2 separate regions of the Homo sapiens genome follow, and region 1 is linked to region 2. The links are contacts of gene promoters, found by promoter capture Hi-C in blood cells and fetal thymus (Javierre and others, 2016). All regions are on one chromosome and are shown on one strand. Each heading gives the region's core, a stretch centred on a gene start or on the middle of the fragment in contact. The rest is flanking DNA. Distances are from core to core; before and after follow the strand shown. Region 1 overlaps TBCD (tubulin folding cofactor D). Region 2 holds the start of WDR45B (WD repeat domain 45B).

Region 1 (4,712 bases), core at 1,063-3,562, 290 kb after region 2:
TTCAGGTGTAGGTTTTTTGTCTCGCGTGTTTCCACGTCTGCTTGTAGCGCTTTCCGCTTCGCCGTTCCCTGCGGCCCTTCCTTCCGTGCCCGGTGTTCATCCTCTTGAATGCTCTTTTCCTGCCTGTTTGGCTGGGTGTGTCTGAGTTGCAACCTGAGCGGGTTTCTTTGTCTTCTTACTTGTCTGGTATTGTGTTCTCTCGGGACGTTGCGTTTGAGGGGTCGCACCTCAGAGCAAGCCGAGGTCTGGGCTAAGCCTGTGCTTTGGCAGGCAGGACCTTAGTTTGCCTTTTCTGGGCACCTGAGGAGAGGGTAGCAGCAGCCTGGGGTCTCCTTGACTCACGGTCAGCAGTGAGGGTTTCCTGGCCTGTTGGGTGGCTGGAGCTTGGCTGCATTCCCCACTGAGAGAGGGAGGTGCGCACCTTCTCCTCCCTGGAGTGGCCTTCCAGGTGCCCTCTCAGAGCTGCTCATCAGGGCTGTGCCTTTGTCAGCACCAAGCCTCAGCCCTTGTCCCTGCTGCCACTGAAGGCTCAAAACAACACTGCACAGCCTTGTGTGTCCTCTGTGTGTCGGCAGTTTCCCCCGGCTCTGCAGCAGCCCAGGCCAGGTAGCCTCTGGAGGGAGTGGTGGAGGAGCACGGGCATCCTGGCCGCCGCTGTGTTGGGGACAGACCCTGGGGCCTGGAAAGGGAGGTGGGGCCCCGTGGGGGCTGCTGCACCACAGGCAAGAGAGCAAGAGACAGCAGAGGCCGGCCAGGTGGTGGCACAGCCGCTAGGGACCAGGCCGGCCTGTGGAGGTATTGGGATGGGGACCAGCGGACTTGCTGGCAGAGGGGCCTCAGGGCTGCAGGCTTCTTGGACTGAGCCACTGGGAGGACGGAGTTGACCTTCTTTGAGACAGAAAAAGTGTGCATCCCGGGGCTGCCTGTGAAAGCTCATCTCTAAAGTGTGTGTTGTTCTTCCAGCCACCCCTTTGCTGTGAAGTTGCTTGCGCTCTGTAAGAAAGAAATCAAGAATTCAAAAGATATCCAGAAGCTCCTGTCAGGCATCGCAGTGTGAGTTTCAAGTGCTGCTGGCCTTAGACGGAATGGCAGGGCGCAGCCTCCCTTGGCTGAGGGCAGGAGTCCACGGCTCCAGGCGGGAGAGGAGCAGTTAGTGTTACTCCTCAAGCTAACCTAAGATCGTGCATTCCAATGTTCAAAGCAGTCGCAATGGGAGGTGAGGCAGCCCAGGTGCTGGTGGAGGGAGTTCCCGCGGGAACAGGCGAGCTCTGCCTCTGCTGCCCTCGCGCTCTGCCCTGGCGGGAGGGGAGGCTCCGGAAAGGAGCTGCGTGGTCAGGGGCTGCCTCCCCGATTCTCCTGTGTGCCCTGGGGGTCGCTGTTGAGTGCCTTGCTCTGCGGCGCTCAGGTGGACACTGGGCAGGTGCGCCAGCCAGCGATAGGCACCTTGGCTGCTCTGTGGCTCCTTGAGGTGGGGGTCCTCATGGCAGGGCGAGCGGCCCTGCAGGAGATCCTCTGTGAGGCGTCCTCACTTCCCACAGTGACTTTCCAAGTGCGACACTCGTGTGTGTAGGCACAGTGCAGATGTACGCACACACACACCTCCGGCTTGGGGCCCCAGGCCCGCACTGTGCTCACGGATCTGCTCTGCCCAGGTCTCTGCATGGGCCTTTGGGTCCGGGGTTTGCTGGGGTTGGCCTGCGCGGGGTGGGGCTCACCTGGAGCCATGTGCTGCTCCCGGCAGGTTCTGCGAGATGGTGCAGTTCCCCGGCGACGTGAGGAGGCAGGCCCTCCTGCAGCTGTGTCTGCTCCTCTGCCACCGTTTCCCGCTGGTGAGTGCCTGCCCCTGCTCACGTGTGTTTGCCGTGTGGACACAAGCCCCTCAGTGACAAGAAGGCCTTCGCTGGCACTGTTGTGTTGGTGTGCTTTCCAGCCGAGCCCCTCTCGTTAACGCGCCTGGGTGACGACGCGTCACAGGCACGCGGCTGCCAAGGGGCTCTGGACGCCACTGTTCTGGCTTTAAGGACGGGCTGTCCGGCTGGCGTTTCTATGGACATACATTGAGGGGTGACCTGGCGGTGGGATCTGGCTCAGGAGCTTCCAGAAGGACCCAGGCTGAAGTGGTTCAGCCACACCTAGGGGCAGTGCCCTTCATCCCCAGCACTCCCCGGCTATTAGATTTCTAGGATTTCTTTTCTCCTGGCTGCAAAAAAAACCTCAGATGATACAAAGGTGACATTTTCCTAAAAGGCAAAAGTAACTTCATGTTGTATGGTGGTTCTCGAAGTGGGGTGCCGGACCCTCAGGCTTGGCACCTCTGGGGCTTCAGCAGTGCAGCTCTTGGGCCCTGTGCTGCCGACTCAGCACCTCCAGGGTGGGCCCGGGGCTCAGACCACCAGCGCAGTGAGACATGATGACCAGGGCACCACTCAAAAAGAGAGCAGGCGAGATTGCTTCCCTGATGAAAAGAGAGCAGGCGAGATTGCTTCCCTGATGAAAAGAGAGCAGGCGAGATTGCTTCCCTGGTGAAAAGAGAGCAGGTGAGATTGCTTCTCTGGTGAGGGAGCAGGTTGGTTAATAGATAGCGGGCGAGATTGCTTCTCTGGTGAGGTAGCAGGTTGGTTAATAGAGAGCAGGTGAGAGTGCTTCTCTGATGAAAAGAGAGCAGGCGAGATTGCTTCTCTGGTGAGGGAGCAGGTTGGTTAATAGCAGGCGAGATTGCTTCTCTGGTGAGGGAGCAGGTTAGTTAATAGAGAGCAGGCGAGATTGCTTCTCTGGTGAGGGAGCAGGTTGGTTAATAAAGCATTTAAACAAGAATGATGTCATCTTCACTGCTGGGATCCTGCAGCTAGCTGTGTGTCTGTGGAGGGAGGAGGTGGTTAATGGGCCTGGAAGGCACCTCCTCTTGGTTGCAGCCCTGCTGTGGCTGGGATGGGATGCAGGGTCAGCGTCCTCCTCCTGACGCCTTCCACTGACGGGGCTCCCTGGCCTGGGTCCTGTCGTCTCTCCGGGGTGGGGCGGTGGCGCTTCCCTCCGGCAAATGCACTGCATCCCTGTCCCAGATCCGGAAGACCACGGCCAGCCAGGTGTACGAGACATTGCTCACCTACAGTGACGTCGTGGGCGCGGATGTGCTGGACGAGGTGGTGACTGTGCTCAGTGACACTGCGTGGTGAGTGAAGGCCCTTCCTGCACGGCCACCTGGGCCTGGCACCGCCCCTCTTCCTGTCCCCACCGTGTCTACTCGTCTCTCCCAAAACCCTCTGATAGGAGGAGGAAAGAGGGTTCCCAGGTCTCCACATCCTCTGCTTAGGTTTTACAAGGCAGCCGTGCTGCTGTAGCCGAAACCTCTTCTCAACCGCCCTGTCCCCAAACAGTGTCAGGTGTCAGGAACACAGCAAAGCCATCCATCCCACCAGGGGAGCGGGCACCTGTACCACAAGGCTGTGTCTGGTGGCCTGTGGAGCAGAGGGCACTGAAGGCCTGGCAGGTGCTGCTGCCCCAGACCTCTCTAAAGTTCTCTTGGAATAGGCCGTGTGAGCACCTGTTGGAAATCAAGAGGCACAGGCGGAAATAAGAAAAGCTCTCCCCACGCCTCTGCTCTGATGTCCACCCCCTTCCTCAGGGCCATGAGGCCCTCAGGAGGCCATAGTGCCACTCTCCACGTTTACTTTGGCAGGCACAGTTTCTGCAACATGGGCTGGCTTCTTTACCATGGGTGGAGTAGAATGGCGGTTTTGAAAGATGTGTGTATTGAGTTGGGGGTGGGAGGGTCTGAATGAGAGCAGAGTGGGGAAAGTGCAGGCTCAGGTGTCCTGGGCCAACCGGTATGTTCCTGGGAACAGCAGTGATGGTGTCTTACACATATGGGCATGGGCACCCATGCTGGCTCACACACATGCTCACTTGCACGCGCGCACACACACACACACACACACACACTTCTAAAAGGGGAGCAGTCTCGTCACCCCGTGTTGGAGATCAGGACTGAAGCAACCAGAGGCTGTGTGGGTGTCCACATGGCATACCCGGGGTGGTGGAGTCCCAGGTGTCCTGCCTGTGGATGCTGCTCTGTTTTGAGTGCCGACTGTGAGGGCCTCCGTGCTGATCCCGGTGCGTTGCTACAGGTCTGTGGGGTCCACGCCCCTTGTTGAATCCAGCAAGGACGTAGGTGACGTTCCCTAGGTGTCTCCTCGGAACAGTGACCTTCCAACAGGGCTGGGTTCCCATAGAGCTCACGCACCAGGCAGCCGCTGTGGCCTCGGAGGACAGAGGTGGCCTCTCCAGGGCTTCCGCGAGGTTTTCTGGTTTGGGGAGGAGTGTGTGTCTGCTCCTAAACAAACACGTGGTCCCAGGAGAGGAACCGGGAGCAGCTGGGCTGTCTTCTCAACATGCGTTGAGAGAATGGCCATCTTAACTACTGCTCTGGAGACCCGTTTTTACAATGATTTTTTTAAAAAAAAACACCAAGGTGCATTCTGGACCAGATTCTAAAATAATTGGCTTTAGGACTGAAGAAGCCAGGTGTCCCGAGCGGGGCGAGGCCTCCTCCAGCGAGGCTGGGTCGGGGTGGCCTCCTTTCCTCACATCAGGGAGGGAGGAACTAGCAGGGTGGGCCTGGGGGCTTCTCCTATCGTTTAATCCCCTTTCTGTTAAAAAAAAAAATCCTTAGAATTTAAAGAGAATATTTTAAATTAGAAACGAAAAACATGCCC
Region 2 (4,307 bases), core at 1,725-4,224:
ACAGAGAGATGTACACAGCCACCAAAATGACCAAAAATAAGAGAAAACATCAAATGTGAGCTGGGTGTAGAGCCATGGGAACTCTTAGACCTGCTAGTTGAGGGCAAAGTGGTACAACCACTTTGGAAAACTATTTGTACTATCTACTATACTCTCAATTCTACTCCTAGGTATATAGAAGTACATGCCTGTGGAAATGTGAACATATGGTCACTGAGAGACATCTTCTAGATTAATCATTACTCTTATTACTCATATTATGCTTATGGTAGCCAAAAACTGGAACGTACCCAAATGCCCAACCATGGTAGACTGGATATATGAATTGTTGTATGTCTGCACAAAAGAACATTGTACATCAAGAATGATCTGGCCGGGCACGGTGGCTCACACCTGTAATCCCAGCATTTTGGGCAGCCGAGGTGGGTGGATCACAGGGTCAGGAGATCAAGACCATCCTGGCTAACACGGTGAAACCCCATCTCTATTCAAAATACAAAAATTAGCCGGGAGCGGTGGCGGGCACCTGTAATCCCAACTACTCGGGAGCCTGAGGCAGGAGAATCGCTTGAACCCAGGAGGCAGAGGTTGCAGTGAGCTGAGATCACGCCACAGCACTCCAGCCTGGGCAAGAGCAAGATCCGTCTCGGAAAAAGAAAAAAAAAAAGATCTACAACTATACTCAACAATACGGAAAAAAAAAATCACAAACATGATGTTGAGTAAGAAACCTAGAAACAGCCTGGCGCCGTGGCTCACGCCTGTAACCCCAGCACTTTGAGAGGCCGAGGTGGGCGGATCACCTGAGGTCAGGAGTTCAAGACCAGACTCAACACGGAGAAACCCAGTCTCTACTAAAAATACAAAATTAGCCAGGCATGGTGGTGCATGCCTGTAATCTCAGCTACTCGGGAGGCTGAGACAGGAGAATTGCTTGAACCTGAGAGGCGGAGTTTGCAGTGAGCCTAGAACGCGCCATTGCACTCCAGCCTGGGCAACAAGAGCGAAAACTCCGTCTCAAAAAAAAAAAAAAAAAAAAAAAACCCAAAACAAAAAAACAGCTAGAAACAAAAATAAGTACAAAAATAAAGTACAGAAGTAGGCAAAACTAATCTATGATGTCACAAGTCAGGTAGGGAGCATTTATTGGAATCAAGCGTGGCCAGGTATATTCAATTTCTTAATTGTTAGTGACAGGTGTGTAGTTTGGAAAATTCATCACCTGAACACTTATGATATATCCACCCTTCTACAGGTATAGCACACTTCACTAAAAAGAAGGCATTACAAACACCAGATGGTTGGAAACCACCCTCTGAGAAGGCTAGGCATCTCCCTTACCATCTCAGCAAAACTTTCTTCCGGAGAAACCCCAGCACACAACCCTGGGGAAGCTGGCAGCGCCCAGGAAGCCTGACTGGTCCCAGGGCATCAGGCATCAAAATCACTGAGAGGGAGTTCTTTCAAATATGTGTAATCCGGCCGGGCGCAGTGGCTCACGCCTGTAATCCCAGCACTTTGGGAGGCCGAGGCGGGTGGATCACCTGAGGTCAGATTGAGACCAGCCTGGCCAACATGGTGAAACCCCGTCTCTACTAAAAATACAAAAAGTAGCCGGGCGTGGAGGCAGGCGCCTGTAATCCCAGCTACTCAGGAGCCTGAGGCAGGAGAATGGCGTGAACCCGGGAGGAGGAGGTTGCAGTGAGTCGAGATCGCACCAGGCTGGGCGACAGAATGAGACTCCGTCTCAAAATGAAATAAATAAATAAATAAAATTGTCTTCACATATACGGGATCATACAGCACCTGCCTGGATTCTCTTCAAAAACAAAACTTCCAAAGCCAACATGTAAAGCCTCGCAGAAGCCTGTCTCGGAATAACGGACATTCCTTTTCCTCCCCATCAGGACCTTTGGGAAGCGCGCCCTTCAAATGGGAGGTGAGGAGGCAACCATCCGAATCCAGGTCCCGCCCGCCTCCCGCGGGAATCCGACCGCGCCGCCCCGGCCGCATCCCCCGCAGCTCCGAAGCACCTGCGGGGAAGGAGGTCACCTTCCCTGGGCGCTTTAAATCATCCAGTGCTTACACCTGGATTCCGACATGGGAAAAGAAGTAAGATTTCCCTCAAAGGCCTCCCTTAAGTCCTTTGACTCCACCAAACACGAAGAAAAATCCCGGGGAGTGGGGGTGGGGAGAGTGACATTTTCCGATGGAAACCGACGGGAAAGGTGAGACCTGCACCCCACCCGCGCCACTCGCCACCAGAGGCGTCGGAGACGCCGGCTCCGCGGCTCCAGTAAACCCAAGCGAAGTCAGCTCAGCCACGGGCTACCTACTAAAGACCCTGAAAGGAACAGGGGGCAAAACGGGGTTCTGGGCAGGGCGTCAATCACGCTGTGGGGAAAATCCCGATAACCGTGGAGCCCGCAGGGAGCCAGGGAACCCGAGTGGGCGTGGCGCGCGGGGAGGGGCGTCCGCGCAGGAGGCTGGGGTTCTGTGCCGTCTCCCACCGACCTCGACCTCGGCCCGGGACGGCCGGCTGGGAGCGGTCACAACCCGGGGGGTGGGGGAGCGCGAAAGGCCAGGAAGGTGGGAGCCGGTTCGGGCCTGGTCCGGACCCCGGCTCGGGCTGGGAGCAGCGGCGAGGGCCGGGGCCGGGGGCTTCGGAGGGGAGCTCGGGCGGGGCCGGGGTCCCGGGTGGAAGGCCTGGCCGGAAAGGGGCGCCCAGGAGAGGCCTGAGAGCCGGGGACCCCGGGCTGCGGGAAGGCCCGGCCGGGCAAGGCGACAGGGCCGCGCCTCCTCACCGTGGTCCTGGTTGAAGCCGGCGTAGAGCAGCCCGTTGCCGTGAGGGTTACACGGCAGGAGGTTCATGGCGCCGCCGTGCTGGGTCGCCGCTCCTCAGCGCTGCATGCCTCTCGCTGGGGACGGCGGCCTGGTCCCTTCGGGCCGGCGCTGAGGCCGCCGCGGCCGGAAGTGCCGGACGTACGTGCGTGCGTGCTGGATGTGCGTGTGTGCTGGACGTGCGTGCGTGCGTGCTGGACGTCCGTGCGCGCGCCCGCGCCCCACCAGGGAGCCTATGGAGCGCCGAGCGCATCTAACCGAAGCGAGGCGAGACGAGGCGAGGCAGGGCGGGGAGGGGCGGGGCGGGGCGAGGCGAGGCGAGGCGAGGAAAGGCGGGGAGAGGCAGGGCGGGCGGGGCGGGATGAGGCGGGGAGAGGCAGGGCGGGCGGGGCGGGATGAGGCGGGGAGAGGCGGAGCGAGGCGGGGCGGGGAGGAGGGGGCGGGGCGGGGCGGGGCGAGGCGAGGAAAGGCGGGGAGAGGCAGGGCGGGCGGGGCGGGGCGGAGGCGGGGAGGGGCGGAGCGAGGCGGGGCGGGGAGGAGGGGGAGGGGCGGGGCGGGGAGGGGCCAGGCGGGAGCGCAGAGCACGTTCGCGGGAGGGTCTGGCCTTGTCATGCGCGGGGTCGCCGCGGGAAGGAGGATGGCCCGTTGAGGGCTTGGCACGGATACCTGACGGTCGGAGGAAGGGGGGAGAGCCGGTAAAGGAGGCTGACCCAAAACTGAGGCCCGGTGCATCATCCCTCATGAGAGGCAAGCCCAGAAGCGCCACAATACTAGGGTCCCCCTTCAGGAGACAGAGACCCCCAGGACACAGAGGGCCCCCAAGTCACTCAGCCCCCCCAGGACACGCAGCTCCTGCAGGACGCAGAGGGTGCCCAAGACACACAGTCCCCAGGACAGAGACCCCCCAGGACACAGAGGACCCCCAAGACACGCAGTCTCCAGGACACAGAGGTCCCCCCAGGACACACAGTGCCCCCAGGACACAGAGGTCCCCCAGGACACAGCACTCCCAGGACACACAGCCCCCCCGGGACACAGAAACCCCCCCAGGACACAGCCCCCCTAAGACACACAGCCTCCCCCAGTACACAGAGTCCTTTCCAGGGCACATATTCCCCCAGAAGACACAGAGGTCCCCCTAAGACACACAGCCCCCCCAGGACACACAGACCGCCAGGTCACAGAGACCTTCCCAGGACACAGGGACCTTCCCAGGACACATAGCCCCCCAGAGGACACACAGCCCCCCCACGACACAGCCCATAGAGGACACAACCCCTTAGTACCCCACCTAAAGGACAGGTGGCCCTCACACAGCACAGCCCCCGCAGGACTCCGGGACCCTCAGGTCACATTGCTCACAGGGCACAGTTCTCAACTCTTAGGGTCAGGCTGCTGGGGGCATCCTGGTCACAGAGCTTTGTCCCTGGGCTTGGCTCATGCAGTGGATGGCTGTGGAGGCCTGA

What was found. Contacts are between HindIII fragments. The CHiCAGO score rates a contact against its expected background, and 5 or more counts as called.
Region 1: a fragment that was not itself captured here is called in contact with the fragment with the promoter of WDR45B in region 2 in 1 of 17 cell types (M0 macrophages); the score reaches 5.0 in M0 macrophages.

The regions. Positions count from the first base shown.
Region 1 is chr17:82,936,308-82,941,019 of GRCh38, forward strand. TBCD (tubulin folding cofactor D) reads left to right here. Exons shown (of 39, transcript NM_005993.5): 35 at 964-1,053; 36 at 1,742-1,829; 37 at 3,060-3,169. Among named protein-coding and RNA genes, the nearest start is that of ZNF750, 99 kb to the left of the region's middle. The HindIII fragment of the contact is 5,400 bases long and covers 1-4,712 here.
Region 2 is chr17:82,645,470-82,649,776 of GRCh38, forward strand. WDR45B (WD repeat domain 45B) reads right to left here and starts at 2,975. Exons shown (of 10, transcript NM_019613.4): 1 at 2,805-2,975. The coding sequence starts at 2,871. RefSeq lists silencers at 2,428-2,477, 2,488-2,537, 3,138-3,207 and enhancers at 2,620-3,119, 3,498-3,567. The HindIII fragment of the contact is 18,003 bases long and covers 1-4,307 here.